Regions from separate parts of the Homo sapiens genome. Here region 2 is linked to region 1. Evidence: promoter capture Hi-C in human tissues and cell types (Jung and others, 2019). All regions are on one chromosome and are shown on one strand. Each heading gives the region's core, a stretch centred on a gene start or on the middle of the fragment in contact. The rest is flanking DNA. Distances are from core to core; before and after follow the strand shown. Region 1 holds the start of MLANA (melan-A). Region 2 overlaps BRD10 (bromodomain containing 10).

Region 1 (4,685 bases), core at 1,032-3,531:
GGTGGTTCAAGAAGTTTTGCAAAGGAGATGAGAGCCTGGAAGATGAGGAGCTGGCCACTGGAAGTTGACAACGACCAGTTGAGAACAATCATCGAAGCTGATCCTCTTTCAACTACACTAGAAATTGCCGAAGAACTCAACGTCGATCATTCTACAGTTGTTCAGCATTTGAAGCAAATTGGAAATGTGAAAAAGCTCATTTAGTGGTTGCTTCATGAGCTGAGTGAAAATTTAAAAAACGGTCTTTTTGAAATGTTGTCTTATCTTATTCTACACAACAACAAGGAAGAATTTCTCAATTGAGTTGTGATGTACAATGAAAAGTGGATTTTATATGATAACTGGCAATGACCAGCTCAGTGGCTGGTCTGAGAAGAAGCTCCAAAGCACTTCCCAAAGCCAAACTTGCACCGAAAAAAGGTCATGGTCACTGTTTGGTGGTCTCTGCTGGTCTGATCCACTACATCTTTCTGAATCCCGGTGAAACCATTATATCTGAGAAGTATGCTCAGCAAATCAATGAGTTGCACCGAATAGTACAACACCTGCAGCTGGCATTAATCAACAGAAAAAGCCCAATTGTCCATGACAGCACCTAACCACATGTCACACAACCAATGCTTCAAAAGTTGGAATAAATTGGGCTACGAACTTTTGCCTCATCTGCCATATTCACCTGACCTCTCATCAACCGACTACCACTTCTTCAATCATCTTAACAACTTTTTGCAGGGAAAATCCTTCCACAACCAGCAGGATGCAGAAAATGCTTTCCAAGAGTTCATCGAATCTTGAAGCATGAATGTGTATGCTACAGGAATAAACAAACTTATTTTTCATTGGCAAAAATGTCTTCATTGCAATGGTTCCTATTTTGATTAATAAAGATGTGTTTGAGGCTGGGCGCGGTGGCTCATGCCTGTAATCCCAGCACTTTGGGAGGCTGAGGCAGGTGGATCATGAGGTCAGGAGATCGAGACCATCCTGGCCAACATGGTGAAACCCTGTCTCTACTAAAAATACAAAAATTTGCCAGGTGTGGTGGCGTGCACCTGTAGTCCCAGCTACTCAGGAGGCTGAGGCAGGAGAATTGCTTGAACCTGGGAGGCAGAGGTTGTAGTGAGCTGAGATCCTGCCACTGCACTCCAGCCTGGGCGACAGAGTGAGTCTCCATCTCAGAAAAAAAAAATGTGTTTGAGCCTAGTTATAATGATTTAAAATTCATGGTCCGACACCGCAATTACTTTTGCACCAACCTAATTGATGTCTAAGTAGGTCATATTCTACCTGCAAAAAGAAAATTTCATCTATCCCTTTCACATAGATGGAAACCCACTATCTCCAGTGGACAGTTAACACCAAAGGCATCACAGAGAACTCATGGAGCTCAGCTGAGGAGGTTTCAGGGATTTTTCTATTTCCTTTTCTTGATTATGAGAGTCTGGGACTAGATGCTCTCCAGACCTGTGCCTAAAGACTCTTCAACCCTTTGAGATGGAGATGAGGGAGGGAATAGGGAACCCAGTTTAGTTTGGATTTCAGATCCTTTTGTGGGTCATAAGCGTGATGATTGGGTTTCCATGTTCACGTGTGAGATATGCCTCCCTCAAACCTTGTTACAATGACATGGGCACCTTACCTATCTGACATGAGAAAAACAAATGTGGATTTCAGATAAACAAAAAATAACTCTTTTAGTGTATATGTCCCATAGAATATGTGGACATATTTATCCTAAAAATATTGTATGGGACATAGTTGTATTAAGAAACTGTTCATTGTTTATCTGAAGTTCAAATTTAACTGGGCATCCTCCTCAGCTGAGCTCCATGAGTTCTCTGTGATGCCTTTGGTGTTAACTGTCCACTGGAGATAGTGGGTTTCCATCTATGTGAAAGGGATAGATGAAATTTTCTTTTTGCAGGTAGAATATGACCTACTTAGACATCAATTAGGTTGGTGCAAAAGTAATTGTGGTGTCGGACCATGAATTTTAAATCATTATAACTAGGCTCATGTCATATTTTATGTGACATGGCAATCCTATGGAGGAGGGACCAACATTTAAAATAAATGGCTTCCCTAGGATAGAGCACTGGGACTGGGGAAAACAGAGGCCACAGTCAGCTGTGACTTTTTGAAGGAAGGAATAAAGTTGGTTTCTTTCATGCCAATTTAGCAATTACAGACGACCCCGTCAGAAATCTAAACCCGTGACTATCATGGGACTCAAAACCAGGAAAAAAAATAAGTCAAAACGATTAAGAGCCAGAGAAGCAGTCTTCATACACGCGGCCAGCCAGCAGACAGAGGACTCTCATTAAGGAAGGTAAGAGCGTTGCCTTCTCGCCATAATCATAGTCCTCTTCTCCCAGAATAGGATTTGGGAAATTCTGGCTAAGTCCTCTGCCTACCCTCATTGCCCCGCTGATGTGTGACATCAACAGAATTTCTCCGCAACGTTTGTCAGTCTCCAACCTCAGAGGGCTCACAAAGCCTCCTCCTGAATCCTCTCTCAGTCCTCCAACACTACCAAGAAGAAAAGCAATTATTCAGGATGGCATCTTGCTGGGGAGAAGCAGCCTCCCTGAGGTAGATGTGTTCTCCTGTCACTTAAAGAACCACTTCTCCTGGTCTGAGTAGTAAGAGGCGCATTTGCTGTTGCTGCACCATTTGCCAAGGCTCTGAGTTTGAGGTATGGGATGTATTAAAACAATTTAATGAAGAATTAAGATTCCATTCTGTCATTTTGAACACAGGGTTCAGTCCTATATTATTCACTTGAGAGGACTGGTGAGTTTGACTTTCATTTCTTTTTTACAACTGGGAAGGGCAAATTACACATAAAATGTCCCAGTGGAAAGGGGTCATGTGTCGAAATCCCCACTCTTCTGTCTCACCTCTCCCTGTTGTTTTAAACTGGGGCTCATTAATATAATTCTATGGGGATCACACCTTTGAAATTCATGAGGACAGTAAGAGAGCAGAAAAATACACAATAATAAGGAAAGGAGCTTCCATTATTGGTTTTTAATGAGCGTACTTGAATTACGGCCACTGCAGTTTATGGATATTTTTTGTTGTTCATTTGTATGTGTTATAGTTAGAAAAAAAAAGAATCCTAGCCAAGGGACTTGAACCAGAGAGAAGCAGAAATTGACTTAAGTAGGAAGGGAAACACATTGTTAGATAAAGTCAGGTCCTGGGCTTCCTCGGCTTGTTTTGGGTGGAGTGCCTGGGGACAGGCTGAAGCCCCTGTGTGGGGTGGTTTCCTTTGCTGAAAAGCTGGGCTGGAAGATGTTGTGCTCAGTGCTCAACCTCATGCACCCTCGCGAGGCACAGGCAACGGGTGCTCTGGGAAACACACGTTATGTATCATAGCCTCTGTTTGTCTGTGGGATTGATATCCAACAATAACTTTGGAGAAAAATAACTCCTCTAATTTTGTTAGCCACAGCCCTGGGCCAGGGAAGGTGGAGAATCAGTGAAAATGCATTTTGTTTGTTTCTCTAGAAGTTTATGGTGCAGAGTCAAATTGAAGGCAAATGAGGAATATTTTTTCACCAAATAATAACTCAACTTGCAAGTCTTTTTTGCTTTTGTTTGTAGTTTCTTCTTTGAACTTAATTTTCAGTTAGTAGGAGGGGTTAGAAACCTGAGCTATTGCTAAAGCCCTTGATATGAATGAAAGAAGCAGGTGCAAATCCCCTCACAGAGAGAAACCAAAGGGTCCTGGCTATGGATATTGGTCACCTAGTGAGGATGCTGTTGTGGGTCTTTATGAGATGATGAATAGGGTGGCTTTGGATGCATTAATGATGCCCACATGCTCCTTCTGTTAGGTGTCCTGTGCCCTGACCCTACAAGATGCCAAGAGAAGATGCTCACTTCATCTATGGTTACCCCAAGAAGGGGCACGGCCACTCTTACACCACGGCTGAAGAGTAAGTTCAAAACCAGACCCAGCAGGGCTTCCAGTTTGCCGTTTGCTGACACAGCCTGCTGACTTCCACCAGTACATGCCTGCTCGTAAATCTCCCTAGTGTTTATCTCCCCAGACAGTAACATCCCTGGCAACAAGGGGAGGAGATTCTGTGCTTCTATAAGGGGCTCAGTCAAGCTTCTCTGAGGCCAAACAGGCAGGAAGATGGGAATGGTATAAGGTTGGATCTTGCCATTTTTGGGTGCACTTTTGACTATTGGGTCTTATCTGTAGGTTCCCAAGTGGAAAAACATCTGTTCAGGATCACAATGCCTCTCTCCTCAATCCTTGTTCTGTCTCCTCCACTCAAATTCCTGAAGGTGGTTTGCAGACAGAATAAAAGTGAGTTGCCAAGGAGCCAGTAAGGATGACGGGCAGGTGTGTGTGACTCAGCCCACAGCCAGACTCGAGAGGAAGATGGAGGTCACAGCCTTTGCAGTATAACTTTATCCTAAGGAAAGACATTGGGTTTTATGAGTGAATTAAAAATAAGTATTTATATGATTAAGCATTTCTAAATGCTAAGCATTGTATACTGGCGTGAGACACTGTTTTTATCTTTGAAAAAACTCACAACTTAGTGGGAGAGTTAGGCATGAGATTAATTTCAGCAAATGTAAGTGCGGTAATGAAAACCCAGAGGCTGCAGGGACATACTCTGTATGTGCTGGGAGTGGGAAAGGGACATACTCTGTACGTGCTG
Region 2 (4,685 bases), core at 1,027-3,526, 43 kb after region 1:
TCACAACACAAATTATAGAAAAGACTGATAAAATGCTTTGTCTAGCAGATACATATGAATATAATGACCACAACAAAGGGCACCCCTATACCCTGCCATGGAGAATGTGAGTCAAGTTTTTATGTTGCTCAAAAGCATGCAGAGGTTTAAAAAAGTTGAAAATTAACTGTTCTGGGATTGCTATTTGAGGTAAGGTGCTTTAATTACTTAGAGTAAAAGGGAAACTCACACTGCCTGTTTTATGTATCATCTGCTTTGGTCAAAACATGGTGCTTATAACCCCAATCAAATTAAAATAATGACACTGTCCCTTTCTACTTAGTAGTGTTCTCAGAGTTGCATGGTATACAATGAAATTAATGTAAAGAGAAGAAAAGTTATATAAAAGAAATGAGATGATAATCTGCCTTATCTTGGGTCTAATATAAAAATCTACATAAAAATCAAGCAAATATTTATTGAACTTTAAATTAGGTCATTAACTAAAAGCTACTAATAGCTTTTCTGATTGATCAACTTTATTCATATACACGGACAAGGGAAAAACAAAGAACAATGATCATGTTTCATCTCGGATGAAATTATTAAAGTTGAAAGGAAACTAAAAGGGCATTTATTTTCTAGAAGAAAATGGTCTAAAGTTATACAGGGAAGTACAGTTGACCCTAGGTATCCAACCACAGATATAAAATAATTTGGAAGAAAAAAAATGAATGGTTGTGTCTACACTAAACACATACAGACTTTTCTTTCTTGTCATTATTCCCTAGACAATATAGTATAACCAGTATTTAAATCACATTTACATTGTAGTAGATATTATAAGTAATACAGAGATGATTTAAAGTCTACAGGAGGATGTGTGTAGGTTATACATAAAGACTACACCATTTTATATAAGGCACTCGAACATACATGGATTTTGGTATGAAGGTGGGGTCCTGGAACCAATCTCCCAAGGATACTGAGACACAACTGTATTTGCCGACAGAAGCAGCCATTAGACTAGAATTCTACACTCTAAATACTAACGTCTAATCTCCTTCCACTATACAATGCTGTATTTCTTGGACCCCACAAAGACAATTCCTAAAGAAGACATAGATTATCTTGTGTAAGTACCTATATTTACATGTAGGTATCTCTGTATTATAAGAATTAAAATCTCTAAGACTTATTTTAACTTTTAAAATTACAATAATAATTAAAATAATAATGACCTAAAGTTAAGAGTGAATTAAAAGCAAAACAGCAAGTTCTTCTGTCTTCAAACACAAAGACAGAATGTGGATGTAATAAAAATCAGAAAGGTTCTTAAGACTCTTTCTCTATACTGATTAATACACAAACAAAGATAAAAATGGCAGATAGATAATTTAGTAAAAGATCATTTGTGGAGCAGTGCTATGACTTTCTCTAATAAAAATATATTTAATAAGCTTTATGCATCTAATTTTAGTTCTGACTCTCCTTTATAAACAAGTATGTGAACACAGGGATAAATTAACTGTTTCCATGTTAGAATTTTCACTATTTTCATAGGCAAACAATACTGAGAGAATCTCAATGCATTACATGAATTTCATAATTCAAATATTTACTGAAGGTCACTTTATAAAGGGACAAGCAGTATTTTTCTTTTATGAATCAACAAAAGTATGAATTTCAAGTGTACATTATGGAACCAAAGACATACAATATAATTTAAATTTGAAGCTTACCTTTCATGCTTTCTCATCCAATGTCCACGGCAGCTGCAGATTGCCAGCTCCCTTTCCATAAGATGGCCCAACTACCAAACACTGGAGGTTTTATAACCCCATAGGGATTGCTACAACAAGGAACTGGTCTATGGTCACAAGATTAAGTCCTTCATTATATCATGCAGTTTTATAAGTCTTTGAATGTAACAGATTAATAACTTAAGGAATCATAAAGGAAAATAAAAAATAACTTACAAAACTACACAATATTGTAAAAAGAAAAGCTGCATCTCTATGTATGTGAAATGAGTCGGGAGGGAAACTTACCTCACAACTAAAGAACAACTGCATTCTGCTACAGTAATCTGGGATGGGTATGACAGCACCAGCATAACACTGGCTGGAGTGTGGCAAGGAGAGGGAGTTGGCAATCTACTGATGCTGGGGACATTGGATACCTAAAAAGGAAAAAAAGAGGGACATAAATAAATTCTATATTAAATGTCTCATAACAACAAATATATTTTGCACACTTTAATTTAGATACTTTGTACATTAAACTTAGGTGAAAGTCACTTGTTTATACAAGCCATACAGTTACTTACATAGATTTTTCTTGTAATATTATATCTAAACAAAACAGGTATCGGCAGTCATATGAAGAAAAAATTAAAATCATATAAAAATATACAAAGAATGCTTTTTAAAATGGAGATGGTATTATTGTGGAGATAACATTTTTATTTAAAAGAACAGTACAAAACATATACAACAAAAGTATGAATGCTTTTTTCCTATATGCTTTTATTTACAAATATGTTGTTAGATCACAGACACATGAAGCACAGAACATTTTTTGTTACAAGTTTAATTCTTGTCACAGACATAAATTCTGTGGTAGAGAAGGTATTAAATATCAATATATTACGCTTTTCTTTTTTTTTTTTTTTTTGGAGACAGGGTCTTGCTCTGTTGCCCAGGCTGGAGTGCAGAGGTACGATGTCGGCTCATGGCAACCTCCACCTCCTGGGTTCAAGCAATTCTCCTGCCTCAGTCTCCCTAGTAGCTAGAATTACAGATGCCTGCCACCACGCCCAACTAATTTTAAATTTTTGTTTTTTCAGTAGAGATGAGGCTTCACCATATTGACCAGGCTGGTCTTGAACTTCTGACCTCAAGTGATCCACCTGCCTTGGCCTCCTGAAGTAGTGGGATTACAGACACGAGCCACTGCGCCCGGCCATATTATGTTTTTTAATTAAAACACAAATACCTTTTAGAAAAGCTAAATGGATCCCTACAAAAAGAAGTCTTATTTAAGGGTCTCGTGCTCTACTGACTGAGTTAGCTGGGCACTAAAAGATGTCTCATTTAAAATCACTAACTATATCCAAAGGTATAATCTAAACTCACATGTATAAAAACAGTATATAATAAACTGTAACTAAGTATTTTAATAAACTAATTATTTGACATTCTCCTTAGTCTAAGTACTATTACATGAAAAGGTAATACTATATTCAATAAGTATTCACCTATTTTTCTTACTGCTTACCTACAGAAACTACCACCATACTAACATATTCCTGCATATTCACAGTTTTGGGGGTAAAACATCATGTTAATCATGTTGGTACACAGTCCCTGAAAAAGTGCTATTTTGACAGTATAATACATATAAATATGAAAAAAGTTAAAAAGTACTTTAACACTGACAGAAGCTCTAACATGAACTATTATATATGCTATTATTTTCTCTTGATACTCTTACCAATTTTTACTTAAGACTAGGAGAAAAGGAACGCGTTTGTACTTTAAAGGCATCCCACACTGAATACATTGAATAGTATATCCAACATTTCCATTATATTTCTAAATTAGCATTTAAATAGAAAGCATGAAGGCAAACTACAACAATAACAATAATGATAACATTTCAAGTTTCTCTGTCTTCCAGCTTTGTAGCGGGGGAAAAACTGGGTGACAGGTCACATTCCTGGTAAGGTAGTTCACTATCACCGGGGAAGAAAATCTAACAATATACATTTAAGAGACAATGTGCTACCATTTTCATTTACAAAGAATGAACCGTGGACTAGAAATTAACCACTGGTTGAGTATCTGAATTTGACTGTTTTCAATAAATTGATATTAAGCCAACAAACTGATGATATTTTAACAGATCCATATATGCTATCAGAAAGATGGGTTCTCAAACAATTCACAGCACAATCTAAACCACAAAGTAATGGCATGTTTATTTGGCATAAGAGGGGCATAAAAAGTTCCAAGTAAGTGAAATTAAGACGGGAAATATTTGAAAAGCAGGGACAGTATCCTACTTACTTTTATTTTTTCATATTCTCTCACAACGCCTAACTCTGACAGAAAAGGCCCACTTTAAGTGTTCCACTACATAAGCACATTTCTCATGTAACTGAGGTTTCTTCCTTAGATACAAAAGGTTATTTAAAAACTGATTAAAATGTTCCTAAAGTATAAGTCTTTCAGATTTTCTGACAATATAATGAATATAATCTAACTTGATGACTTGGGTCATCATTATGAACGAGTTATTTTGTTAGTTTTAAACTCCTAAGACCTGCTTTTACTTATTTTTTTCAATTGCTTTTTAAAAAAATTATTCATTAGCCGGGCATGGGGGCTTATGCTTATAGTCGCAGCATTTTGGGAGGCAGAGGAAGGTAAATCACTTAAGCCAAAGAGTTCGAGACTAGTCTGGGAAACATGGCAAAACCCTGTCTCTACAAAATATCCAAAGATTAGCCGGCCATGGTAGTGTGCACCTGTAGTCCCAGCTACTGGGGAGGCTGAGGTGGGAGGACTGCTTGAGCCTGGAGGTGGAGTTTGCAGTGAGCCAAAATCACACTACTGCACTCTTGCCTGGGTGACAGAGTGAGACCCTGTCTCAAAAACAAATAAATGAATAATTTATCAGTGTTTCATGCTGTCAGTAAATCT

Evidence for each region. The method cuts DNA at HindIII sites, captures the fragments that hold promoters and counts their contacts. A contact is called where the count stands out against the background at its distance.
Region 2: a contact is called between a fragment that was not itself captured here and the fragment with the promoter of MLANA in region 1, in 1 of the 25 tissues and cell types used here (lymphoblastoid cells).

The regions. Positions count from the first base shown.
Region 1 is chr9:5,888,608-5,893,292 of GRCh38, forward strand. MLANA (melan-A) reads left to right here and starts at 2,282. Exons shown (of 5, transcript NM_005511.2): 1 at 2,282-2,329; 2 at 3,843-3,944. The coding sequence starts at 3,868. LOC124902341 (small nucleolar RNA U13) reads left to right here and starts at 1,543; the gene lies at 1,543-1,649. It also overlaps a transcript of BRD10 not described here. The HindIII fragment of the contact is 14,558 bases long and covers 1-4,685 here.
Region 2 is chr9:5,931,721-5,936,405 of GRCh38, forward strand. All of the region lies in intron 5 of BRD10 (bromodomain containing 10), which reads right to left. Among named protein-coding and RNA genes, the nearest start is that of MLANA, 43 kb to the left of the region's middle. The HindIII fragment of the contact is 3,336 bases long and covers 609-3,944 here.